Linked DNA regions of Homo sapiens: regions 1, 3, 4, 5, 6 and 7 are each linked to region 2. The links are contacts of gene promoters, found by promoter capture Hi-C in blood cells and fetal thymus (Javierre and others, 2016). All regions are on one chromosome and are shown on one strand. Each heading gives the region's core, a stretch centred on a gene start or on the middle of the fragment in contact. The rest is flanking DNA. Distances are from core to core; before and after follow the strand shown. Region 1 overlaps POLI (DNA polymerase iota). Region 2 holds the start of MEX3C (mex-3 RNA binding family member C). Region 3 overlaps SMAD2 (SMAD family member 2). Region 4 holds the start of LOC124904306 (a long non-coding RNA gene). Region 5 holds the start of POLI (DNA polymerase iota). Region 6 holds the start of PIAS2 (protein inhibitor of activated STAT 2). Region 7 overlaps MBD2 (methyl-CpG binding domain protein 2).

Region 1 (3,816 bases), core at 1,039-3,538, 3.1 Mb after region 2:
TTAGCAAGCAATTAAATGCTTTTATTCTATCAGGAATTTTCACTGGAAAACTTTGTTGTTTGTTTATTTATTTATTTATTTTTTGAGACAGGGTCTTGCTCTGCACCAAGGCTGAAGTGCAGTGGTGCTGTGATAGCTCACTGCAGCCTTTGTCTCCCAGGCTCAAACAATTCTTCTGCCCCAGCCTCCCGAGTAGCTGGGACAGTAGGTGCATGCTACCAGACCTGGCTAACTTTTTTGATATTTAGGATAGACAGGGTCTCAAACTCCTGAGCTCAAGCAATCCTTCTGCCTCAGCCTCCGAAAGTGCTGGGATTATGGGCATGAGCTACTGCACCTGGCCTTGTTTTTAAATAGATAATTAAGTAAAGAGTCATTTAAGAATGTTTTCCAAGTTCAAAGAGAACAAAACTGTGATAACTGTATAGCATGAGATAACTTCTTTATGGGCATTTAGATTGTTTCCATTTTGAAGAACATTTAAATGCAAGTCATTGGATGGGCATATGCATATGTTTTCATTTATCTTGGGTAGATTTCAAAGAGTGGAATTGCTGGATCATATGGTAACATGAACTGTTTAAGAAGCTGCCAACTTTTTTCCAAAGTTTGTGTATTAATTTACATTTTCATCAACAATATTTGAAGGTTCCAGTTTTTCATATTTTCGCCAATATTTGTATTATCAGTCTCTTTGATTATAGTTGTTCTAGCGGTATATAGTAGTGTGGTTTTTCTTTTATGGATAGTGTTTTTGGTGTTATATGTAAAAATTCTTTGCCTAACTCAAAGGTCACAGATATTTTTTTCTGTTTTCTGTTAGAAGTTTTATAGTTTTTAAGCTTTATGTTTAGGTCCATTTTGAGTTAATTTTTTTATGTGTGGTATACGGTAAGGGTCTTCATTCTTTGCTTTGCATGTGGGTATCCAGTTGTTCCTGCATCATTTGTTGAAGACTATTCTCCACCCACTGAATTACCATGACATCTTTGTCAAAAATTAATTGACCATAAATATAAGAGTTTATTTCCTGACTTTCTTGTTTCATTGGTCTATATGTTTATCCTTAACACTGATTCCACCCTGTGGTGGTCTCTGCTGCTCTGTTTATTTTTCTGTAGTCTTTTTTTTTTTCCGTTTTTTCTTACAAAGTGGATAATTTGTATTGAGCTGCCTGTAAGTTCTCTGATTCATCTGTCATCTCATAACCGCTGTTGCCCCTGTAGTGATTTGTTGGTTTTGGTTACTGTACTTTTTAACTCTAGAATTTCTGTTTGTCTTTTGTTTATATGTTTGGTTTTGTTTCTTTATCAAGATTCTCCTTTTTTTGTAGTCATTATATTTTACTTTAATTCTTTAAACATGGTTGTCTTTAATTCTTTGGACATATCTATAATAATGAATTTGAAGTCTTTGCTAAGTTCACCTCAAAGTCAATTTATGTTAACTGCTTTTCCTCCCAAATATGTATCACACTTTCCTGTTTCTTTGCATGTTTTGAACTATTTTATTGAAAACTGAACCTCATAGATAATGTATTGTAGCAACTCTGGATTTACAATTTTTTCTTGTAGGGTTTTTTCTTTTTTGTTTCCTGTACTTCTTTTTAGGTAACTTGTCTGAACGTAATCTGCAGAATTTACCTCCCCTGTGCTGTGTAGCCACTGATTTCTCTGCTCAAGTGTTTTTTTTTTTTTTTTCCATTCAAATTTTTATTTTAATACTGGCTTCTGGGAAGTTGCCCATGTCTGTATAGTTTCATGGTTAGCCAGTGATTGGCAAAGGTTTTGCTCAAACACTAGAGTCTGGAAGCCGTCTACCTCTGCCAGTGGATAAGTGTATGGGTTGGAGAGGGCTTAAAAAATTTAGGCCATTTTCCCATACTGCCCAAAGTAATTTATAGGTTCAATGCCATCCCCATCAAGCTACCACTAACTTTCTTCACAGAATTGGAAAAAAATACTTTAAATTGCATATGGAACCAAAAATGAGCCCCTATAGCCAAGACAATCCTAAATAAAAAGAACAAAGCTGGAGGCATCATGCTACCTGACTTCAAACTATACTACAAGGCTACAGTAACCAAAACAGCATGGTACTGGCAGAAAAACAGAGATACAGAACAATGGAACAGAACAGAGGCCTCAGAAATAACACCACACATCTACAACCATCTGATCTTTGACAGACCTGACAGAAACAAGCAATGGGGAAAGGATTCCCTATATAATAAATGGTGCTAGGAAAACTGGCTAGCCATATGTAGAAAGTTGAAACTGGATCCCTTCCTTACACCTTATACAAAAGTTAACTCAAGATGGATTAAAGACTTAAATGTTAGAACTGAAATCATAAAAACCCTAGAAGAAAACCTAGGCAATAGCATTTAGTACATAAGCATGGGCAAAGACCTCATGACTAAAACACCAAAAGCAATGGCAACAAAAGCCAAAATTGACAGATGGGACCTAATTAAACTAAAGAGCTTCTGCACAGCAAAAGAAACTATCAGCAGAGTGAACAGGCAACCTACAGAATGGGAGAAAATTTTTGCAATCTACCCATCTGACAAAGGGCTAATATCCAGAATCTACAAAGAAGTTAAACAAATTTACAAGAAAAAAGCAAACAACCCCATCAAAAAGTGGGCAAAGGATATGAACAGACACTTTTCAAAAGAAGACATTTATGCTGCCAACAGACATATGAAAAAATGCTCATCATTGCTGGTCATTAGAGAAATACAAATCAAAACCACAATGAGATACCAGCTCATGCCAGTTAGAATGGCGATCATTAAAAAGTCAGGAAACAACAGATGCTGGAGAGGATGTGGAGAAATAGGAACACTTTTACACTGTTGGTGGGAGTGTAAATTAGTTCAACCATTGTGGATGACAGTGTGGTGATTCCTCAAGGATCTAGAACTAGAAATACCATTTGACCCAGTGATCCCATTACTGGGTATATACCCAAAAGATTATAAATCATGCTACTATAAAGACACATGCACGCGTATGTTTATTGTGGCACTATTCACAATAGCAAAGACTTGGAACCAACCCAAATGTCCATCAGTAATAGACTGGATAAAGAAAACGTGTCACATATACATCATGGAATACTATGCAGCCATAAAAAAGGATGAGTTCATGTCCTTTGCAAGGACATGGATGAAGCTGGAAACCATCATTCTCAGCAAACTATCACCAGGATAGAAAACCACACACCACATGTTCTCACTCATAAGTGGGAGTTGAACAACGAGGACACATGGACACAGGGAGGAGAACATCACACACCGGGGCCTATCTGGATGGAGGGCTGAGGGAGGGATAGCATTAGGAGAAATACCTAATGTAAATGAAGAGTTGATAGGTGTAGCAAACTAACACGGTACATGTATACCTATGTAACAAATCTGCACATTGTGCACATGAACCCCAGAACTTAAAGTATAAAAGAAAAAAAATTAGGCCATTTTCAAGTTTTTCTTGAATTTTAATTTCTGCTAGGCCCTCTTTATCTCCCCATGATGTGCATGTAGCCCTTTCAGTAAGGAGTGTATGGGGAGCTTGGGCCCTCTGTGGCCTTCCATTTATTTGCATGTAGCCTCCTAGTCAACTAGGGTTGTACGGGGAGCCTATGTAGTCCCTCTTTGGTTCTCTCATTTCCAAATCTCCTGGTGACATATCTGGCTGGTCCACTGATCTGTCCTTCACCCGAACCACGACTGAAGCTTCAGACTAGCAGAGCTGTGGGATCTTCCCATTCGTTTCCTATCAAATTTGCTCATTTTACTGGCAACACTGCTGA
Region 2 (3,587 bases), core at 22-2,521:
CTTCACATCTGGTCGACCCTCGGCTCCTCCCAGACCCCTTCGCGGTGGACTTGGGGGCCTCGCCGGGTTCGCCTTTTCCGTCCCACGCTCCTTTCTCTCGTCTCCCCACCCACGCCCGGGGCCATGCCCAGCTGGACCTCCCCACCCCTGCACTCACCCTGGCGGCCGACGATCTCGGCGACGTGCTCGGAGCTGGGCACCGGGACGCACTCGGTGGTGTTGACGCTCTTTCTCCGGAGCAGGGCCGCCTGCTCCCCGTTCAGGGCGGCCGCCGCCGCCCCACAACCGCCGGGGCCGTAGGCGTGGGACAGCATCGCCGCCATCATGCCCTGGGCATCGTCCCCTCCGTACAGCACCCCCGCCGCCGCCGCCGCGGCCGCCGCCTCCCGGGCATCGAACCTGGCGGCTGGCAGCAGCACAGACCCCAGGGACCCGCCCGGGATCTGCTGGGTCTGAGAGGCGGTGGCCGCGGGCGGCGACAGCAGCAGCAGCGACGACCGGTCCTCCTCCTCTGCTTCCTCCAGCTCCTCCTCCTCCAGCAGGTCTCCGTCCAGCTCCGCTTCCTCCCCCTCCTCCTCGTCCTCTTCCAGCTCCAGCTCGGCCGCCTCCGGGGCCCCGGGCCGGCCGGGCGGAGCCCGCTCCTCTGGAGACAGCTCCGCCGCCCGCCGGGCCTGGCCCTGCGCCGCCGCTGCCGGGGCCCGAAGCGCCGGGGCGCCGGGCTCCGCCGGGCTGGGGTCGTCGAGGCCTAGCGCGGCCAAGCGCTCCCTCAGCAGGAGCCCGTCCCCCTCGAGCTCCGGGCCGCCCGAGGGCGGCGGCAGAGGCGGCGGTGGCGGCGGCGGCGGCGGGGGCGGCTGCGGCAGGGGGGCCGGGGCCGCCGCCAGGGCCAGGGCCGCGGAGCTGCCGCTGGGCATCGCGGCGGCGCGCTGTCAATGGCGGCGGCGGCGGCCGGGTCAGGCGCGGCAGGCGGCGAGCCCCATGGCGGACAGGGCCAGGGCCCTGCTCAGCTCGCAAACACCTTTCCTCTGGGGAGGCGGCGGGGCTGGGGACCCGGGCCGAGGAGCGCCAGGGCCGCCCGGAGACCGGAGAGGGCGGGGTGGAGGGGCAGGGGAAGGAGGCAGAGGTAGGTAACTAGGTGGGTGGGTGGGGACGGCGGCGGGGCGGGCTGGTGGAGGTGGCAGCGGCTCCCCTCTCAGTGTTTCTTTTGTTTCATGGCCTTAACCAGCCCCCGGCGCGCGCGGCGGCGGCGGCTACGCCCCACGCCGCTCTCCGAATGAAGCCGGCGCGCTCTGATTGGGTGCTTTTAATCTCTGGGAGCCCGCCTTCTCCTCCCGCAGCCTTCCAACTCCTTTCCCCAGCCCCACCCCCCACCCTCCTTCGGGCCCCGCCCCTCCCCTCCCCAGAGCTCTCTGATTGGGTGACCGGGACCAGCCAGTTCCCGAAGCCTACTCCTTCCGTCCTCTCCCCGCCCACCTCCCTCTCATTCCTCCCGGCACGCGCGGAGAGGGACTGTGATTGTTCACTTTACACGTCACTCTTTGTGACGTCCCCGGCGGGGGCGGGAAAAAGGAGGCGGACGAAGGCGCTGCAGCAGAGGCTGAAACTAAGGGCCAAGCGGGGTTTTGGCGCAGGCGCGTGCGGTCGAAGCGCACACCTGGATTTGTTTCCCCCCAACCCTTCATCCCTGTAGCCCATGTGGCTGAGTTCTTTTAGGGAAGGCACTGTGTGAGCGGCCTGGAGCAGAGCTGCAGGCATAGGTTCGAGAGCATTGTTTCCTTGGGTTGAGGAAGAGATCGCCCCCTTCAGAGGAAGGGCCTTAAGAAGAGTCACGGAAGGAGGGGCCACGCAGTATCCTCCTATCCCCTCGCGGGGGCGGTTTCCTGAGCCGCGTGGCTCCCGGGCCTTCCCTCTCGGACTCGGGAATGCTCCTCCCACGCCCCGCTGGCCCGGCTTCTCTGCCGGCAGGATGGTTACATCAGCAGCCTGGAGGTGCTGAAGTTTAGCTCTTCGGGGTTTTTTGTTTTTTTTTTTTAAACGGAGTCCAGCTCTGTCGCCCAGGCTGGAGTGCAGTGGTGCGATCTTGGCTCACTGCAACCTCCGCCTCCCGGGCTCAAGAGCTTCCCCTTGCAGTGGCTCACGCCTGTAATGCCAGCACTTTGAGAGGCTCAGGCGGGCGGATCACGAGGTCAGGTCAGGAGTTCGAGACCAGCCTGATCAACATGGTGAAACCCCGTCTCTACTAAAAATACAGAAATTAGCCGGGCATGGTGGCGCACGCCTGTAATCCCAACTACTCGGGAGGCGGAGGCAGGAGAATCGCTTGAACCCGGGAGGTGGAGGTTGCAGTGAGCCAAGATCATGCCACTGCACTCCAGCCTGGGCGACAGAGCGAAACTGCGTCTCAAAAAAAAAAAAAAAAAAAAAAGAGTTTCTCCTGTCTCAGCCTCCCGAGTAGCTGGGATTACAGGCACGTGCCACCACGCCCAGCTAACTTTTGTATTTTTAGTAGAGACGGGGTTTCACCATGTTGGCCAGGCTGGTCTCGAACTCCTGACCTCAAGTGATACGCCCGCCTCGCCCTCCCAAAGTGCTGGCATTACAGGCGTGAGCCACCTCGCCCAGCTCTTTGGTGCTTTTTAAGAAAATGAATCCCCGTTTCCTCCTCCCTAGACACTCTTCCCACAGTATTGCTCAGGTGATCTCACGCAGTGGCTATCTTTTCTAGAGGTTATTATTTCTGTTTTTGTTGAGACAAGAGTCTCACTCTGTCGCCTAGGCTGGAGTGCAGTGACATGATCACAGCTCACTGCTGCCTTGACCTCCTAGGCTCAAGTGATCATCCCGCCTCAGCCTCCCCAGTGCATCACCACGCCCGGCGCGCATCACCACACGTGGCTAATTTTGTTTATCTTTTGTAGAGACTGGGTTCTTACCCTGTTGCCCAGGCTGGTCTCAAACTCCTGGGCTCAAGCGATCCTTCCACCTGGGCCTCTCAAAGTGCTGGGATCACAGGCGTGAGCCACCGCGCCTGGCCTCTAGGGGGTATTTTTAAATGGCTTGTTAAAAATTATGCTTCTTAACTTTCCTCTGTCTTAGGCTGTGACTAGCCCGTCTATCCCTTTAGTACTAAGTCCTGCCAGGTTAATCTTAGCCAGCAGCTTGGTCCTATACCTACAGATACAATGTAACAATGTAATTTTAAAATTTCTAAATGACCCCTTTAAAGCAAGAAGAAACATAGTTTTAATAAATACACTTAGTTCAATATGTCCAAAATAGTATTTCAACATGTAAGCCATATAAAATTACTGATAATGTTTACAGTTCTTTTGCATTAAGCCTTTGAAACCAGGGTGTGTTTTACACTTCCAGAAGTTCTTTTCACACTAACTGCATTTCAAGTACTACTCAGTAAGTACTCTAAATTTCTTGATTTTAAAATTATAACGGGACACTTTCTATATTGGATTAATTTATTATACCTAATTGCCTTAAACTCGTTTCTTAAGAGTCAACTTTAATTGAACATATACTTTTCTAAATTGTCTAGGCTGTTACCAAGACGGAGAAGGCTAAACTGTGACTTGCAT
Region 3 (3,789 bases), core at 59-2,558, 3.3 Mb before region 2:
CACAATTACACCAACCTGAAAAAATGATCAAAATTGATCAATGACAAGCAATAAGCCTCTAACTATGCATTTTTAAACCAAAAAGGCTAGTACTTTTGTACTACTGCTAAAAAAAAACCTGATTCTTAAAAACAGCCAAGGCTACATATTACAAGGTCACCAATAATTATCTGATGGTGTAGATGGTTTAAGAAGTAACCCTGAGGTAAGGTTACAAGAAAGGGGATCAAAAAAATTATCAGTGCTAATACTGGGCAGAAGTCACATGACAAGAGTCAAGAAACCCTCAACAGAGAGACTGGCCAACTATCCACTCTTGCTTTATCCTAGAAATCTCGAGCATACTCTATCTCAAAACACAGTGAAAAGCATACACTACTGTCAAAGCACAAGTGAAAATTTATATGATACTCCTGCAGACTGACAAAAAAATTACTTACACCAAAGAAAGGGGTGACATAGGGTGCTACCACACTGAAACAGCCTTTCTTTACTGCTGGCTACCCTTTCAGCTTGGAATCTGAATGGCTGTCTGAATGGCAAAACAAATGAAAAACATCTTGGTCATAACAGCTACTGTGATCTTTCATGAAATAAGCCATAAGCTATAGCACAATCTTCAACCCCTTTAAGAACATTTCTTAATCATCCTGAGTGACAATCTAAAGTATATTACGTAGATTATTGCACTCTTAAAAAGATTTTCCCAAACATGATTTAGGCTAATTGATGAACATTCATTACTATGCTTTCAGGTCTGGTCCTGCACTCAATGGCCCCAGACATGCTAGTCAGGCTTTGACTATTTTTGTGTCTTGTAGATTATCTCTATTATCCTCACCGAGCTGTTATCTGTTTTTTCTGACAAGAGACACTAGGCTAACATCCTACTCCCCAGCCCCCACCACACCCCCTCTAAGCCTCCCACAGTACCCATAATCTACTTGTTTCTAATCTAGTGCAGGTTTAGAAGCCAGATAACTTTGCTTGTTAGAAACACTTTAAATAAATGCCAACACATTCTTATTAAGGGTCTCCAAGGCTCTCCTAAGCTTTAAGCTATGGACTGGGACAATTTGGCTATCCCAGGCCTTTGTTGTTCATTGTCTGCTTCTCAAATACATTTTACAATAGGTCCATAATAACAGTGTAGGCAAATCATTTGGATTAGAAAGAGCCCAAGTAACAAACCCACAACTACAAGAGAGGAAGAAATCATTTGGGAGGACCCTTATATCTCAGGCAATGTTCTAGGTACTTGAATTGTGATCACTGAATAAGAGGAAGGGGTTAGTACTTCCATTTTGTGTCAGAAAACCAAGGGCCTGGGGTTGGTAGTAAATTGCCCAGTATTGTAACTGAGAAACAAAATATTAGGCTAGGGCTCTCTGATTCCAAAACCCAAGGCCTTTCCACTACATGAGACTGCTGTCCAATCCTGGGTCTCGGTTTAACTAACTTTTTACACTATTCCCGATCCTTTCACTGAGTTATTCAACTCTGCTTTCTTTCCTTAACCAGCTTCTGTAATTAAAGGGCAATAAGTGATCAAATTAAGGTCAGATGAAGCTTAGCTCTACAAGTGTACATCTGTTCAGCAATAAACATGTTTCTGAAAGACTGGCCGTATCTTCAGTTTGTATAGACTGTGCAAAACTGGTGCCAAGGTCCCCCCAAAATACACAGATTGTTCCCAGTGACACTGAGTAACACTTCACATCTTCCCTAGTGCTATCTGCTACATGTTACAGGAAGCAAGGCAAGCTCACTTTAGGAATGGCTCAGTAATGCATGTGCCCTTGATTTGTACACTAACAACTGTCTTACTCTAAACACTGGAGAATAGGGCAAGGGACATGAGTTTCCACTTTTCTAACTCCATTAAGGAACAGGGGTGTACTTGTTTGCTGTTAAGAGACTTTATTGCCTAGTCCAGAGCCTGACACACAGAAAAAGCTGTTTGTTGAATAAATGAATAAATGTATTTGTTGAAAATAAATGCATCGGCCAGGCGCGGTGACTCACGCCTGTAATCCCAGCACTTTGGGAGGCCGAGGTGGGCGGATCACCTGAGGTCGGGAGTTCGAGACCAGCCTGACCAACATGGTGAAACCCCGTCTCTACTAAAAATACAAAATCAGCCAGGCATGGTGGCGCATGCCTGTAATCCCAGCTACTCAGGAGGCTGAGGCAGGAGAAGCGCTTGAACCCAGGAGGCGGAGGTTGCGGTGAGCCGAGATCGTGCCATTGCACTCCAGCCTGGGCAACAAGAGTGAACTCCGTCTCAAAATAAAATAAAATAAAATATATAAATGCATAATCTCTCATAACCTCTCTTAACTGGTTGTGAATTCCTTACGTTTCACATTTTCTGACATACCTTTGGAATACTTAGGGGAAAACATCTTACCTCTCACAGAAACTAAGGGCCTAAAAATGGCTCTTCTACACCCATCAAAAGACTAAGAATCTAAAAGACATGCCCCCCTCTACCCTCTAAAAATGACTCTTTGTCCTAAGAATATGAATAAATCTCCATCTGCCAGACTGCACTAAATACAGCTTTTATATGCATTACAAAAACACCTGTATAAAAAAGCTGCTACAAAACGAGGTTTTTGGAGCCCTAAAGCACAAAACCAACAGAATCAAAACCAAACAAGAACAAGGAAAGACTTTTAAAACTGACAGTATTTGCAAAATGTAAAAATTCAATAGGTCTTTGGCCAGCGGTTTACACAGCTAAACCGAGTTTTTCCATTGACATATATTCCCCCAAATGTGAAGTAAAGATTATAGCAACATGATTCTAATATTTACAATGTGAAAATGAAAAGGGGACAACAACCTCTGGCCATCTTGAAGTAGAATAGAAACAACCTTTGTTCCTACTAAAGTTCTGTTGAAATACCAAAACCATCCCCAATATTCCTACACAAGAGTTAAAACACATACCAAGCCTGATAAGACACAAACAACAGGAAATTACCCTGCACAGTTTCTTAAAAGACTATTATTTCATGAAACTTACAGACTGTGTAGAGACATGACCACTTATGACTAAGTAAACGTAGGTTACAACCTTGAAAACCCAAACTTTTGTTGAACACCTACAATGCTTGTGGCCGCACTTTAGAAGGTGTGGCTAAGTATAAAAACCAAGCTCTAAGAGCAATTTCTTACTAAAACCCCAAAATGAACGTTTCCAATCACATTACATTAATTAAACCTGGCCAGTGAACAGCCTTGAACTCAATTAAATCCAGCAGAGTTTAATATTTATAGTAAAAGTGGGCACACTCTTTAGAAATGCCGAAAGATGTGAACTATTTATATTTACTACGACAGCTAAGTTTACGGCAACGGCTAAGGAACTTTAAAAATAAAAGTATTACTTTTGAATTTAATATAAACGTTTGCTAAATGACCTTCTGGCAGAGGAAATTCTTTAAATATCTTGTATGGGTTTTCCGAAGGCAAATTTTTTAAATACCCTCAAACTATGGTACATTTATGAAGCCCATTTTAAATTACTTCTCCCATCTCTGCTTCATCTGCTTCACTAATTCATGTATTAAAACTGTTGAAACTCCATTTAACTATTTGACTAACTTCTCTGTAAGATGGAAACTTTTTAAAGGGTGTTAAAGTAGAATAGCAAATTTTCAGCATAATAAGAGCAAATTTATTACTAGGCTCAAGGAAAACATCCTATCAGCGATTCATTCATACGAAACTATCAGGTTCAATTCATATGAAGTCAGAAGAGAGAAAAAGAATTTTGGAAAT
Region 4 (3,609 bases), core at 183-2,682, 3.1 Mb after region 2:
ATGGTGCTGTGGCCCAGCCTTTAGAATCCTTTCTGGGTTTCCTCCCCCGAGGCATTGTGGGCTGACTCTGCTTCAGGTTCTCATCAGTAAGCTGGCAGGTGTGTTCGGCCTCCTGCAGGCCCCGACAGGCCTTTGTTCTCTCAGAAGCAGCTTCTCACCCTGCCACTAAGTGGAAGAATCAGGTTTGCTGTTCACATGGGGCTCTTCATTTCCAATTCACCATGGGTAGAGCTATGAGAGATGTAGGAAGGGGACCTCAGGATAAAACTTCTTTTTCCCCTCCATAACCACTTTTACTGCTAATAAAGTTGAGAATCAAAACATTTTTTACCTTCTTGGGTCTATTTCTGAGTTAGTAGAATCTGGAGGGGATTTTAACTATGGCTTTGAGATTAAAAAACAACAACAAAAATAAAACGCTGTGATTGACTTATGTAAACACATGGCTGTTCTGTTCCCTTCGTGGCCGACTTGCTCAGCTCAGCGGAAACGCAGTTAATGAAGAACTCTGTTTGTTGTCCCACCTTCTTTGCAGATGTCTTCAAGATCAGACTCCCTCCTGTCTCGTTCAATACTTAAGTATTTAGATACCTTGTAAAAAGCCTGGGTGTTACACAGGCATTTGCTGAGACAGGAAACAGAGGAAAGCATAAGTCAAAGAAACAGTAAATTTCAAGGCAGAAAGGGCTGATTCAAAAGCATTAAATAGAGCTATAGTCTGATAACATGATGCTAACCTGAGAAGCTCAGAAATTTTTCCTTGAAGAATTGATAAAGGTGACTCAGGGAAAATACCAGAGCAGGTATGGATGCCAGCAAATCTGGTTTGTTTCAAAAGCAGACGACGTCTCCTTTAATTTACTGAGTTAAAAATGCATATAATATTTTTATGGCATACATTTTCCCCTTAAAACTGTATATTCTTTGTGATCATGATCTTAGCAATAATAGTTTTGCCAACCACAGTCCCGTTCAGGAACATAACCTCTATAATTGATGAACATGTTCCTTTTAGATTTGTGCGTGGGGGGGGGTAAGGGAATCATTAAATATAAAAATAAAATAATTTAAATGTTCTGATTGAAAATCATAAGCTGGAGGCACATCCAAAATACCCATGGGTGTTGGAACAATACTGTCTTTGACATTATAAAATTATAAATTATATCAACATTATAAATTATATTGATTCGTTCCTGAAATTTTCTCCAGATATTTAAAAACAGATCAGTAAAAACCTCAAAACTGACTTTATCCTTCTAAAGTTTAAAATTTCATGACTGGCCGGGTACAGTGGCTCACACCTGTAATCCCAGCATTTTGAGAGGCCGAGATGGGTGGATCACCTGAGGTCAGGGGTTGGAGCCCAGCCTGGCCAACATGGCAAAACCCCGTCTCTATTAAAAAATACAAAAATTTGCCAGGCATGGTGGCACCCACCTGTAGTCCCAGCTACTTGGGAGGCTGAGGCAGGAGAATGGCTTGAATCCAGGAGGTGGAGATTGCAGTGAGCCAAAGTCACATCACTGCACTCTAGCCTGGGTGGCAGAGTTAGATTCTGTCACGGAAAAAAAAAAAAAAAAATGTTATGATTAGTTAGCCAGCTAGAGGTACAAACTCACACGAGGCCATCTGAGAATTCGATAATTTTTAGTGTTATCATAAATTTATTACCTATAAAAGTATCTATAAAATCCTGGATCTGGCCATTCAAACCTTCCCTGACAGTAGGGTTAATCTGGTGTTTGAGATTATGAAGGTTCTATATCTGACAGACATTTTGGAGGCCTTTTCAATTCTATCATCTTAAGACAACTGCCTTGAACTCTGTAAACTGCAGTCTTTTCTCTGATTGAAGTCTACTAATATCTCCTTATATAATTCAAGTGAATAAAAGGTTTGAATTAAATAGGGCATACAGTAAAAGACTTTTGCTATCAGAACAGTTCAAAAACCTTTTCAGATTTGTGGACTTCAAGTCTTGCCAATCTTTTAACCTACTTATATTCAATCAATGAGATCTGTTTGAATGCACTAAAGAGTAGATTCAACCCAATGTCAAAGAGAATATTCTTCCAACACCTAACACTATAGACAAATTAATTTGTTGCCTATTTCATCTACTAGTTATGACAGCATCCTCTTCAATAATTGCAAGTCTAAATTTTCAGATCAATACTGAAATGGGTTTCAGGCATGACTATTCTGCTATTAACCTGTTATACTATTTTAACATCTTATAATGAAGTCAATTGAAAAAAGATAATATTATTGGCAGCTTTTATTGGCCACTTACTGACCTTGAACTAAAGGTTAATCTGTACAAGCTCAATATAGATCCTGGTTGTTGACACTTTTATAAAACCTGCACTTCAGTGGACAAGAATAATGTCCTGGCATATTTCAAATAATGTCCTGGCATATTTCAAATAATGTTAAATATAATTCGAAGCCACCTACAATTCTTGTGTATTTTCTTTAAATAATCTAGCTTTTTCTAAATTTTATATTTATTTAAACTCTCTACAGTGGGTGCTTAAAAAAATAGTTGGCTCTTGTGTTTGTGTTCTTTACAATATCAAACCATGATATGGAGAGGATAAACTTGAGCCACCAAGAAGTGGACTCTGCCTAGGAAGACAGTTTGCTGAAGTTAGAAAGTACTGGTCTAGGAACCAGAAAACCTGATTCTGCCCAAGAGTTAGAATTGTGAGTGAGTTCTTTCTGGTTTTTAGTTTCCTTATCTGTAAAATAATTACCCAGTTCAATTGGATAATCTCTATGATCCCTTCCACATTCTGCATACTTGGATATCTACTGTTTCTAAATATTTTGGCATTTCTTATAAAGCCCTTTCACATTTACTTTATTATTTTTTCCTCACAAGAATTCCTGAAATAGATAAGGCAGAAGTTTAGAGGATAGATAGGTTGGGTATCATTTTAGATGTGGTAACTAAGGTTACGGGAGATTAGGTGTGATATGATTTGGCTGTGTCCCCACCCAAATCTCATCTTGAATTCCCACGTGTTGCAGGAGGGACCTGGTGGGAGGTAATTGAATCATGCGGCAGGTCTTTTGCGTACTGTTCTTGTGATAGTGAATAAGTCTCATGAGATCTGATGGTTTTAAAATGGGGAGTTTCCCTGCACAAGCTCTCTTCTCTTGCCTGCTGCCGTGTGAGACATTCTTTTCACCTTCTGCCATGATTATGAGGCCCCCCCAGCCACATGGAACTATAAGTCCCTTAAATCTCCCTTTCTTTTGTAAATTGTCCAGTCTCAGATATGTCTTTATCAGCAGTGTGAAAATGGACTAATTCAAGGTGATTGGTAAAAATTACCTATCTGGGGACTGGAGCAGTGGCTCACGCCTGTAATCCCAGCCCTTTGGGAGGCCAAGGTGGGCAGATCATGAGGTCAGGAGATTGAGACCATCCTGGCTAACACGGTGAAACCCCGTCTCTACTAAAAATACAAAATTAGCTGGGCATGATGGCACACACCTGTAGTCCCAGCTACTCAGGAGGCTAAGGCAGGACAATCCCTTGAATCTGGGAGCCAGAGGTTGCAGTGAGCAGAGATTGCTCCACTGCACTCCAGCCTGGGT
Region 5 (3,684 bases), core at 698-3,197, 3.1 Mb after region 2:
CTATCTAGACTTATCAAACAGCTTTCACAAAGATAGCAGCCTAGCTCTCTGAACAGGTAATTTATAACCTAGATAGCAGACTTTGAAAGAACTGGTCCAGACATCTAAGAATTAAATATGCAAAGAGGAAGATTTTGTTTCCAAACCACTGAGACCCAGCTCTGCTTGTTATTCCCTTTTCTTCATGGATGCATCAACATATCCTTTAAAGCAGGGGTCCCCAGTCCCCAGGCCATGGACCAGAACCAGTCCCTGGCCTGTTAAGAACCATGCCGCATAGCAGGAGGTGAGTAGCGGGCCCGGGAGTGCAGCTTCATCTGTATTCACAGCCACTCTCCACTACTGGCATGACTGCCTGAGCACTGCTTCTTGTCAGATCAGCAGCGGCATTAGATTCTCACAGGAGCCTGAACGCTACTGTGAACTCGCATGCGAGGGATCTAGGTTGCATGCTTCTTATGAGAATCTAATGCCTGATGATCTATCACTATCTCCCATCACCCCAGATGGGACAGTCTAGTTGCAGGAAAACACGCTCAGGGCTCCCACTGATTCTACCTCATTATCTATTAAAATGTAATAATAATAGAAATAAAGTGCACAACAAATGTAACGCACTTGGATCATCCCAAAACCATCCCCCTCCCTTCTGTCTGTGGAAAAATTGTCTTCCATGAAACCAGCCCCTGGTGCCAAAAAGGTTGGGAATGGCTGCTTTAAAGGGTTTCTCAAGGTTCTAATATTTTATTTGATAAGAAGTAGAATCATATAAAAAACCAAACATATGTGTTAATTTGGGTATTTATACAGATATAGTGTATATACATACATACAGGCATGGAGGAATTTCCAAATTTCCTCTATTGTAAAACATACACATACACACACCAACACACACATGCACACATGGTATCCTAATAGAAGGCAAGGAGAATAGACATTTACTGAGCACTTCCTATGTGCCACATGTTTTATATACATTAGGATATTACAGTATATGGTAGCTTTTATCCATTCATTCAATCTCAATACTTTTTTTTTTTTTTAAGAGTAGAGCAACTGAGGCTCACAGCAGTTATGTAACCTGCCCAAAGTCACACAGCATGATGGAGGGTCTGGATTGGAGATTTTGTCTGACTACAACACTCATGTATCAAATCCTATTCAGTTTTGATGTTAAAAATTCTGTGGTTGAATTCGTCACAGTGTCTTTAAATAAAACAACAACAAACAAAACACAGCAAACCTTAACATAGTTGCTAATCATATGAGTTTACAAGGCCACCTGTGTCTTTACTATCAGTTACACTCCTTCCCACCCCATCACATTAATCACTCAGGTCTAGGGATTTGCAAGTTTGCTAACAGCCGAATGGAACAAAGACAAAACGCTAAAATTTGTGATGTGGGCCTAACTCCAAAGCCTTCAAGAAAAAAAAAAAAAGGCCAGGCGCAGTGGCTCATGCCTGTGATCTCAACACTTTGGGAGGCCTAGGAGGGTGGATCACCTGAGGACAGGAGTTCGAAACCAGCCTGACCAACATGGTGAAACCTCGTCTCTACTAAATACAAAAAAATTAGCTGGGCGTGATGGCGCATGCCTGTTAATCCCAGCTACTTGGGAGGCTGAGGCAGGAGAATCGCTTGAATCCGGGAGGCAGAGGTTGCAGTGAGCCGGTATTGCGTCACTGTTGCCCACTCCAGCCTGAGCAACAAGAACGAAACTCCGTCTCAAAAAAAAAAAAAATAGCCATTTGTGCTTTCAATCTCTCCGCTTCCGGCCTCCACCCGGCGGGAAAAAACTCCCGCACGTGGGCCTCCACGATTCCTTGGCATGCGTGTCACTCTGGGCAACAGGCTGGTCGGCCACGACTGCGCAGGCGAGAGGCACAGAGCGACTGGAGACTGTAGTCCCCCGGTTTCCCTGGAGACCAGGCGGAAGCGGCCGGAAGTAGCGCTGCGGTTGGCAGCGGCGGGATGGAGAAGCTGGGGGTGGAGCCGGAGGAGGAAGGCGGCGGCGACGACGACGAGGAAGACGCCGAGGCCTGGGCCATGGAACTGGCGGACGTGGGGGCGGCAGCCAGCTCGCAGGGTGCGCCGCAGCCAGAGGAGCCAGCGGCCTCCTTGGGTGTAAATGAGAAGGGTGGGGCAGGCGGACGCTCGGGGCGGCGGCCACTGGGGCGCGACCGTCCCCGCCCCACTCGGCTCCTCTAAGAGAGGGCTGCCTCCCTCTGCCTTGTGTTACGCGGCGGGTACCTCTAGAGGAATGGCTTCACCCAGCAGGAGTAGGGTGGGGCGCGTCCACACTACAAATACGTGTCGAGGGTTTATCTGCGCCGTCCTTTCCTCTGTGAGGGGCGAGGTGGGGCGGGAATCCCTCAGCCAGCCCGACGAAAACTGCAGAGGCTTCTGGGCCTTTTAACTTTGGAGAAGTTGAGGACCTTGTCGCTCATTTGGCAGAAGGTGGGACCCGGATCTCAGTCCTGGCAGGAAGGGATGGCTCAGAACCTAGGCGGAGTCAGGTCCGCTGTGGTCACGTCTCCGGTGACCCACTTCCAGCTCTGGTCTTTACCTTGTACCGCCCACCTCAGGGCCTGGATGTAAAGGCACCGGTTCTCATTTCCTGCTGGTTTTGTTTCATTCATTAATTTAGAGACAAGGTCTCCCTGCAGCCTCGAACCCCTGGGCTCAAGTGATCCTCCGCCCCAGCCTCTCCGTCCCGAGTAGCTGGGACAGCAGGCACGTGCCACCACACCTGGCTGATTTTCAGATTTTTTTAGATCAGGTGTAGCTGTGTTGTCCAGGCTGGTCTCAAACTCCAGCCACAAGCGATCCTTCCACCTCAGCTTCGAAAAGTATTGGGATTACAGTAGTTAGCCATCGTGCCTGGCCTTTTAAATTTTGGAACTTTAGGTTTACCTGAAAGTTGCAGAGCTAGATCCCCCTAGTGTTAACATAAACTCAGTACATTTGTCAAAACTAGGAAATTAACATTGGTATAATACTATTAATTGAACTACACGCTTTATTAATATTCTACCAGTTTTTCTGCTAACGTTCATTTTCTGTTCCAGGATCCCAACCAGAATATTGTATTGTATTTTGCCTGTCTTGTTTTTAGCCAGTGTTGAGAGAAGGAGTCGCCTCTGTCATTCCCTCCCCGACAAATAATGACCTAACAACTTTTTAAAATCAAAGAACTATTCAGTCTTTCAATTTAGTGAATATTTATTGGTGGTCTGTTATGTCCTAGACACTGTTTTAGGCACTGGCGATTTAGCATTAAACCAGATAATCCTGCTGCCATGGGAGCTAAAAATAGCCCACACTTGTACCCACTGGTTGTCTTTTGCCATTTTGTATTTCAGTTTTTGTTGGTTTGTTTGTTTTAAATGTAAGGGCATGCTGCTTAGAATAATTTTCAAGCTGTGTGAAAATCAACGTCATTTCAACTTTTCTGCCCCTTCTGGTTTACACTAAGAGCTACTATAAACTTCCAGGTGATAGTATTAGCTCTTTCATCATCCATTATTTATCACATTTTTTCCCTTCAAACTTATTACTATCCTGAGAAAAACGCAGTGCACAAACAGTAATTAAGAGGACTGAAGACCCTACCCTAAGTGGAGTTTCATGTCTTTGTAATTTTTCGATGCTTTCACACATAATCCAGGAGAAAACACG
Region 6 (3,824 bases), core at 565-3,064, 4.3 Mb before region 2:
TCTGCTCTATAAGAGCGAGTAAATTCTTCGCTTTACATTAAGCTTTGGCCAACAACATTCACAAGAGTCTAATAAAAATCCTGGAAAGTTTTCATTAACAAAAAAAAAAAAAAGAACTTAGAAAACTTGTATACATCTGTTACTACACAAAAATTAAAAATGGCAGGTAAAAATAAATATAACTTCAGAGTTCAGTCTTCTCAACCCATCCTAAATCTAACGCATGAATTTACAGAGGTGAGGTTCAGGGTTCGTTGTTTGAAAAGCTCCACAGGTGTTAAAAGCTCTACAGCTGGGGCTCTGAGCCACTAAAACCCTTAAACTTATCAAGTATGAACACCCTTTACCTACACTTATGGTTCTCTGCATAAACTAGTATGGGGCATAACATGTATTAATATGTGTTTACTGGGAACTTAATAATTATTTTTGAAACAGCAGGAGGGAATATGGCAGGCACTGTGCAAACTCCAACAATCTCCGTTTAGAGCAGAGGATACGTTCTTTTGCTCACGTCCACTAAGCAGGTAACCAGCCAACATCCTTCCCCCATCCCATCTCTTGCGGAAAACAATAAATATACAAAACTGAACCTTTTACCGGATTCCTCTTCCTTATTTGAAAAAGAAATCCTAATATCATAAGTGTTACACAAACGAGTTGCAGTAAATGTAATTTCAAGTTTACACTCATCTCTACCTTGATACATTTAAAAAAAAAAAAAATCAGGGTTTCTGTCCGTAAACATCTCATTTATGTCGCCAGTAATTCAGCGATACACACAAATCCATCTCATTCGTCACACTTAGTTAGGACTTTAAAGGTTATCAGTCTGGGGGGAAAAAGTCTCTTCTGTTCTACCCCCATCACAGCCCTATTCCAGACCTCTGCTATACAAGGGTATCAACAATAAAGTTATGATCTTGTTTTAAGACTGAGAAGAAAAAAATATTTTTCCTCAAGAGTAAAAGGGGTGCACAAACCTCACAACATAGACTTTGCAGATTTCTTACTAAAACACTAAGAAAATATCGAGGTTTAAGGCCGATTATTGAAGGCAGGGATCCCCAAACATTAGGTTCCTCGAAGATGTTAGGAGGCAAGGGTGGGAGAAGGGGCCTTTTCTCGTGACAGACCTGACTAAACGGTAGCATCAGCCATAAGAAGAGGAGAGATTCCTAAACGCAACTTCAGCTTTCAGAAAACAGTCCTCCACCAAGTGAGTAGCATGCAGACTTGTGAATAGCCACAGACACGTACACCCCGGTGAAGGTGCAAGATCAAACGTTGCTTCCCACATCGGCCCTCACTGCGAACCGGGATGTCGGGTCCCCATGTGCCCCTCCTGGAGGGCGCCCCGACCCCCCGCGCCAGGTGTGCGGACCACTGGCAGCACTCAGGAGCCGGCTCGCCGCGGCCCAGGCCCGCCGCCCCCGCGCCGCCCGCGTGCCCTCCGCCGGCCCGCTCCCCTCCCCCGCGCCCTCGGCGCCCGTTCGTCCGCGGGCCGGGGCTCAGGGCTCCGCCAACCGGCCCCAGAGGCACGAGCAGGCGGCGGCCGGCGACGTTGCGGTTTCCCCACCTCCTCTCCCATCCCCTCCCCCGCGGCCTCCGCTCTCCACTCCCGCTTACCCTCAACTCTTCGAAATCCGCCATTTTATACCACCCGCGGGCGCCGCCGCCGCTGCCGCCGCACCCACTCCCGCTGCCGCCAACGACGCTGCCGCCACCACGGCCGCCGCCGCCTCCAGCACCATCCTGCACTGGGCGCCGCTTAAGACGCCGCGGCCGCCGCCGCTACAGCCGGGCCCGTCACGTGAACGGCGCGGGAGCTCCGCCTCCGACGCGCCGAAGCCCCGCCCCTAGCGGTGCCCCCTGCCCACCCGCGCGACCGCCTTCCGCCCGCGCCTTCAGTCCGCGCGGCGACAGCGCCCGCCCGCGCCTGCCCCGGCGTGCTGCCCCGCGGCTTGGCCCCGCTCGGCCCCAGGTCGTGCCTTCCCTCCCCGGCGGAGGCCCCTGCGGACTGCCTAGAGCTGGGTCGCAACTGAGGCGTTATCCGCGGGCCTGGCCTCGGGAAGTGGCGGGGAGGAAGAAGAGGCGGCCGGGACGCGTGACAGGAGCATTCGGGAAGATTCTTACGGTGCCCTTCACGCGGTGCCTATGGACGGAGAAAGCCGCCGCAAATAAAACCATCCCCCAGAGTAGTTGTGGCGGAATAATCTAAATATGGGTGTTGGGTAAGCTATTGTTCCCATCTAATGGTGAGGTTGTGTGACACCTCTTTGAATTGCTAATGTCCTGCAAGTACCAACCTTGCCGAGTTTTTCTGACCTTGAAGGGCACCTGAAGGTCACGGACTGCAGAGTTGGGAGAGTTAGGCGGTGGGGTTGGGGGCGGGGAGAAGTGAAATAAGAGCGCTCAGAAGGGCCATGCTAAAAAGTCGGGGAAATCTGATAGCTAGGAAGGAGTCAAACGCCAAGGCAGAGTAAGTAGATAGAAGGAAGCTTGATGGCCCCCCCGTAATGTGCTGATATAGGATGAAGGAAGATGCTGAGTCAAGATGGCCAGAAAAATCGCTGGACGGTGTCCAGGGTTCAATTTCCTTGAAGAATTGGGTGGAACCCACACACGAGAGGTCTTTAAAACAATGTAACTTTTAAGGCCCTGTTTAATCAGCCTCCTACCTACCGCCTCTTCCCACTACCCCTCGTTTCATCCGCACTGCACTTCCAGGTCTTCCTTCCACTCCCCTGCCCCCGCACCCCGCAAGTTTTGTTTTTTTGAGACGGAGTTTTGCTCTTGTTGCCCAGGCTGGAGTGCAATGGCACGATCTCGGCTCACCGCAATGTCTGCCTCCCGGGTTCAAGCGATTCTCCTACCTCCGCCTCCCGAGTAGCTGCGATTGTATTTTTGGTAGAAACGAGGTTTCTCCAAGTTGGTCAGGCTGGTCTCCAACTCCGGACCTCAGGTGATCCGCCCGCCTCGGCCTCCCAAAGTACTGAGATTACAGGCGTGAGCCACTGCACCCGGCCTCCCCTCAAGTTTTAAGGCTTCTAAATGTTGATCCTTGAACCAAGAATAATTTCCCACTCTCTTCTTTGTTCCTAACTCCTGTTCATCCTTCAGGTTTCACTTTAAGTGTCACTTCCTCAGGAAGACCATCCCTCACCCACATCCCACATTTTAATTCAAATTCCCCTGTTATGACCTCTCCTAGGACCCTGAACTTTTTCTTCCTGAGATGTCTCCATGGTAATTATGTAGGTATTTGTGTAATTGTTTATTTGATATATATGTGTGTGCGTGTATATATATATATGTGTGTGTGTGTGTGTGTGTGTGTTGTGTATATATACACAACACACACACATATTGTTTTGGCCAGGTGCAGTGGCTCATGCCTGTAATCCCAGCACTTTAGGAAGCCGAGGCAGGTGGATCACTTGAGGTCGGGAGTTGCAGACCAGCCAGGCCAACATGGTGAAACCCTGTCTCTACTAAAAATACAAAAATTAGGCCAGGAGCTGTGGCCCACGCTCTAAATTCCAGCACTTTGGGAGGCAGAGGCGGGCGGATCACCTGAGGTTGGGAGTTGGAGGCCAGCCTGACCAACATGGAGAAACCCCGTCTCCACCAAAAATGCAAAATTAGCCAGGCGTGGTGGCGCATTCCTGTAATCCCAGCTACTCCGGAGACTAAGGCAGGAGAATCGCTTGAACCCTGGAGGCGGAGGTTCCAGGGAGCGGAGATAGCGCCATTGCACTCCAGCCTGGGCAACAAAAGCGAAACTCCATCTCAAAAAAAAAAAAATTAGCCGGGTGTGGTGG
Region 7 (4,032 bases), core at 1,222-3,721, 3.0 Mb after region 2:
TATTTAAATGCTCTCTAATACTACTGAAATGAGAAAACTAGAGCAAATATTTGTGAACATGCTTGTACAATGCTGACCTGAGTTTTGTTAGCCAAACTCCTCCCTTAGGGAAGCATATGAAGAATAATTTACTTCTTGTAAGTAATACTGCCAAAGCTGGAAAGTTACAAAAGTGCCAGAATTATACGGAGGACTAGTCTTTCCTAAAAAATTTTTTTCCTGTGTGGCATTAATCTGTAAGAAAGTTTTTATAGGAATAATGCCCCAAAGTGTTACCTAATAAATTTTCTGAACTAAATAAATGTGCTAGAACAAAGTCAGTGTGATATGTCACAAGAAAATTGTGAGAATTGTAGAATACTTCTCAAAGAAGCCAATGTGTCACATTTAGAACTTAACCTTGCACCAAGTGACCACAATAAAAGAAAAATAACTCATAGGAAGATAAAAGGAAAAAGGCTGAAAAACCAAGCAATAAATATTCTCTTGGAACAAGAAAACTTCTATCTGGGTCAAATACACAGCAATACACCCCGGACTTGTCACAAACTCTTTGGTATTCTGTCCCACCACACTTCAAGATAACTGAAGATGCTATCAACATTCTTTTTCCACAACCACATGACTTAAGTATTCGTGAAACACAATTCAAGGTATAGAGTTCAGCAGGCAGATGAAAATAACAACCAGTAACAACAAGAACAATACAAGAAAAAACCAGAGGAAAGAGTACAGGATTCTACACAAGCAAAGCTCAACTCCAACTCTAACCTAGACTTCCAGAATACTCGGTATCACAAAATAAAATAGCAAGTCACTCGCAATATTGTCCGAAACTTGAACCATCTCTGCCCACCAGAGTTCCACCCCAAAACCTGATCTTCTATATTCCGCACCTGTGTCAGTGGCGCTGCTGTCCACTTAGTGCTTTATTCTCCAAGCTAGAAGGCCACATCACAATCTTTCAGCGCCCCCATGTCTCAGCCACACATCCAGTACCAAGTTCTAAATGTTCAAGCTCCTCAATGTTGACAAAAAAGCTTCACCTCCTTAATAAGTCATCGAAAGCTTTATATCTGTTATATAATTTTTCCCAGACTCTTTTCCCACCAGCTTTGGTAGCCTACATTCCAAACTCTAAATCACCAAAATATGCCATATACCTTTGAATCTTCCAGTCATGTCTTTCCAGATGGAAGGAGGAGCACAGCAACATCCTGCCTATCAAAAAGCTATTAAATCCTCCAAGCCCAGCTAAAATATCCTCCACCTCAACTAGGAAGTCTTCTGGGATTCTTCAATTCAAGTCAGAAATAATCTACTACCACTCGAAATTCTATTTTCATTACAATATTTCCTATATATTTCCTTGCTGAGTCAAACAACAATGCCACTCTTAAACTTCAAACACCATTATAGGCTAGCACTGAACAAGGTAACTTTCTGAGAGCAAAAAACGTTATCAGTTCAATACTAAAGGATGTAGTTTTCATTTGCAGACACAATGGGATAAATATTATTGTTTATTTAAAAGTTATATGGCAAAGAATTTTTAAAACTAAGCTAGAAAATATTTTCATGATTAATGTGTTTTACCACATAAGAAATAAAGTATTACTAATGACCTAAATTAATATGAAAAATTAGTAACATTACTCTGCCATTATGTCACTTATAAAATGCTGCAATAGCCAGGCGCAGTGGTTCATGCCTGTAATCCCAGCACTTTGGGAGGCCGAGGCGGGCAGATCACGAGGTCAGAAGATCGAGACCATCCTGGCTAACACGGTGAAACCCCGTCTCTACTAAAAATACAAAAAAATTAGCCGGGCGTGGTGGCGGGCGCCTGTAGTCCCAGCTACTCAGGAGGCTGAGGCAGGAGAATAACATGAACCCAGGAGGCGGAGCTTGCAGTGAGCTGAGATCGCACCACTGCACTCCAGCCTGGGCGACAGATCGAGAGTCTGTCTCAAAAAACAACAACAAAAAACAACAACAACAACAAAAAGCTGCAATAGCCATATGGTCCTTATTATCAGATATCAGATACTCAAGTTATTGGTAAACGACATTCTGATAAACTAGTTAACATACCACAAAAAAATGAAAACACAAAATCCACAAAATAAAAATGACAATTCTGTGGCCAGGCACGGTGGCTCATGCCTGTAATCCCAGCACTTTGGGAGGCCAAGGCAGGCAGATCACCTGAGTTCGGGAGTTTGCGACCAGCCTGACCAACATGGAGAAAACCCATCTCTACTAAAAATACAAAATTAGCCAGGCGTTGTGACGCATGCCTCTAACCCCAGCTACTCGGGAGGCTGAGGCAGGAGAATCGCTTGAACCCAGGAGACAGACGTTGCGGCAAGCCGAGATGGCGCCACTACACTCCAGCCTGGGCAACGAGCAAAACTCTGTCTCAATAAAATAAAATAAAATGACAATTCTCAATCAGCTGTCTCTCACATAGATCTCTTTTGTGCAATAAAAAACAGCTCTAGAGTAGACACCTTATTTCAACAAATTCATTTTCCAGAAGATGAAATACTCAGGCAGTAACTCTTACCAAAAAGATAAGCATACTGTTCTTAGCTTATGGCTTAGAGACAAATAGGAAGCTATTTATGAGGGAATCAATTGACAAACTTCACAAATTAAACCTGCAATAAGTAGTTCCTTATCTTAAAGTTGAAATGTCAGTTATCCACTGCAGCTGAAAACATAATAGAGCCTCACCACAATGTTCCTCTACAGAACAAAACTCATTAGAGACCAGTTCATTTTAGATCTCTCCCCCAAATCAAGATAATTTGAACTCAATTAAAAGGCTATACTCACGAAATGTGATCACTTATGTTTATCATCTAGATTAGCAGTTCATCAGCAGTTTAACACGGCTTCATATTATTTCTATTGTTTATTAATTTTAAAAATGAAATGGGGGGCCAGGCACGGTGGCTCACACCTGTAATCCCAGCACTTTGGGAGGCCAAGGAGGGCGGATTGCCCGAGCTCAGGAGTTTGAGACCAGCCTGGGCAACACGGTGAAACCCCATCTCTAATAAAATACAAAAAAATTAGCCCAGCGTGGCGGCGTGCGCCCGTAATCCCTGCTACTTGGGGAGGCTGAGGCAGTAGAATTGCTTGAACCTGGGAGGCGGAGGTTGCAGTGAGCTGAGATTGTGCCACTGCACTCCAGCCTGGGCAACAGAGTGAGACTCCATCTCCAAAAAAAAAAAAAAAAAAAAAAAGGAAGGTATTTATTATAAACAAAAAGGCTAGACATCCTTTACTAATAAACTAAGTTGGCAATGAAGGAAAAAAGGTAGAAGTTTTAACTATTAGCATATCCAAAAGAAAGCTGGAATATTCACTAGTAACCAGTAAATTCTTATTCATAATGAATAACCATTTCCTGTTTTACAGATGGAATTCTATGAAACATCTGTATTGGATAGCTACAAGTATCTATCATATATACTGCTGCCTTCAGAAAACAGTAGTACAAGCCATTTTCTTCTCCGTAACTGCTACAGTCTGTCTGTGGTGCTTTAAGGAAAGTCAACCTGGCTGCCCCAGGGGATTTTAGGCCAGAGACTTTACTCTTCAGGAGGTGAAAGCAAACATGGAGGAGGGCAAGGCCCAAGGGAATGATTAAGTAGGAATTCTGCCCATGAGATGAGATACAGACCATCTGTACAGTAGCAAACTGACCCTGGGAGAGGCAAACTGAGGAAATAAATGCTAGATGAACAAAAAGACTGTCACCTAAGTTCTAGTCTTACCCAAAGTGATTAAGTTTAATCACCTGTCTACCCTCAATAATGGCTGCTGTAGGTCCTGGTCTCAGAAACACCAAGACTTAAAGTGACTAAGCTTTTATTTTAAAAGCATCAATTTGTAACTTAGGGAAGTTCAAAAACTCTAGAAGACTGAGTGAAGGATATTAGTCATTTTCAGTTCTCTCTGCCCATTATGATTACTTCTAATCCCAGTAATGAAATACTATTTCACTTTCAACCACAAAAA

The links. Contacts are between HindIII fragments. The CHiCAGO score rates a contact against its expected background, and 5 or more counts as called.
Region 1: a contact is called between a fragment that was not itself captured here and the fragment with the promoter of MEX3C in region 2, in 2 of 17 cell types (total CD4 T cells and fetal thymus). The highest score is 7.4, in total CD4 T cells.
Region 3: a fragment that was not itself captured here is called in contact with the fragment with the promoter of MEX3C in region 2 in 3 of 17 cell types (neutrophils, fetal thymus and naive CD8 T cells); the score reaches 6.3 in neutrophils.
Region 4: a contact is called between a fragment that was not itself captured here and the fragment with the promoter of MEX3C in region 2, in 1 of 17 cell types (naive CD8 T cells). The highest score is 5.1, in naive CD8 T cells.
Region 5: the fragment with the promoter of POLI here is called in contact with the fragment with the promoter of MEX3C in region 2 in 5 of 17 cell types (non-activated CD4 T cells, naive CD8 T cells, M0 macrophages and 2 more); the score reaches 12.5 in non-activated CD4 T cells.
Region 6: a contact is called between the fragment with the promoter of PIAS2 here and the fragment with the promoter of MEX3C in region 2, in 1 of 17 cell types (activated CD4 T cells). The highest score is 5.6, in activated CD4 T cells.
Region 7: a contact is called between a fragment that was not itself captured here and the fragment with the promoter of MEX3C in region 2, in 2 of 17 cell types (activated CD4 T cells and total CD8 T cells). The highest score is 6.0, in activated CD4 T cells.

The regions. Positions count from the first base shown.
Region 1 is chr18:54,287,515-54,291,330 of GRCh38, forward strand. The region is part of intron 8 of POLI (DNA polymerase iota); the gene reads left to right. Among named protein-coding and RNA genes, the nearest start is that of POLI, 20 kb to the left of the region's middle. The HindIII fragment of the contact is 2,897 bases long and covers 841-3,737 here.
Region 2 is chr18:51,196,410-51,199,996 of GRCh38, forward strand. It overlaps MEX3C (mex-3 RNA binding family member C), which reads right to left and starts at 1,272. Exons shown (of 2, transcript NM_016626.5): 1 at 158-1,272. The coding sequence starts at 911. RefSeq lists silencers at 236-285, 306-355, 616-695, 836-945, 966-1,495 and an enhancer at 1,696-1,785. The HindIII fragment of the contact is 5,421 bases long and covers 1-3,587 here.
Region 3 is chr18:47,925,613-47,929,401 of GRCh38, forward strand. All of the region lies in intron 1 of SMAD2 (SMAD family member 2), which reads right to left. Among named protein-coding and RNA genes, the nearest start is that of SMAD2, 3.2 kb to the right of the region's middle. The HindIII fragment of the contact is 517 bases long and covers 1,051-1,567 here.
Region 4 is chr18:54,247,190-54,250,798 of GRCh38, forward strand. It overlaps LOC124904306 (a long non-coding RNA gene), which reads right to left and starts at 1,522. Exons shown (of 2, transcript XR_007066378.1): 1 at 1,441-1,522; 2 at 1-625. RefSeq lists enhancers at 1-177, 178-1,064. The HindIII fragment of the contact is 8,611 bases long and covers 1-3,609 here.
Region 5 is chr18:54,267,570-54,271,253 of GRCh38, forward strand. POLI (DNA polymerase iota) reads left to right here and starts at 1,948. Exons shown (of 10, transcript NM_007195.3): 1 at 1,948-2,092. The coding sequence starts at 1,978. It overlaps LOC124904307 (a long non-coding RNA gene), which reads right to left and starts at 2,336. Exons shown (of 2, transcript XR_007066379.1): 1 at 2,257-2,336. RefSeq lists enhancers at 1,310-1,459, 1,720-1,849, 2,380-2,429 and a silencer at 2,060-2,309. The HindIII fragment of the contact is 5,901 bases long and covers 1-3,684 here.
Region 6 is chr18:46,915,693-46,919,516 of GRCh38, forward strand. PIAS2 (protein inhibitor of activated STAT 2) reads right to left here and starts at 1,815. Exons shown (of 14, transcript NM_004671.5): 1 at 1,630-1,815. The coding sequence starts at 1,653. It overlaps KATNAL2 (katanin catalytic subunit A1 like 2), which reads left to right and starts at 1,910. Exons shown (of 18, transcript NM_001387690.1): 1 at 1,910-2,234. RefSeq lists silencers at 1,185-1,264, 1,335-2,074 and enhancers at 1,211-1,964, 3,472-3,824. The HindIII fragment of the contact is 2,459 bases long and covers 41-2,499 here.
Region 7 is chr18:54,206,067-54,210,098 of GRCh38, forward strand. The region is part of intron 1 of MBD2 (methyl-CpG binding domain protein 2); the gene reads right to left. Among named protein-coding and RNA genes, the nearest start is that of SNORA37, 14 kb to the right of the region's middle. RefSeq lists a silencer at 2,580-2,780 and enhancers at 3,651-3,700, 3,791-4,032. The HindIII fragment of the contact is 2,811 bases long and covers 1,067-3,877 here.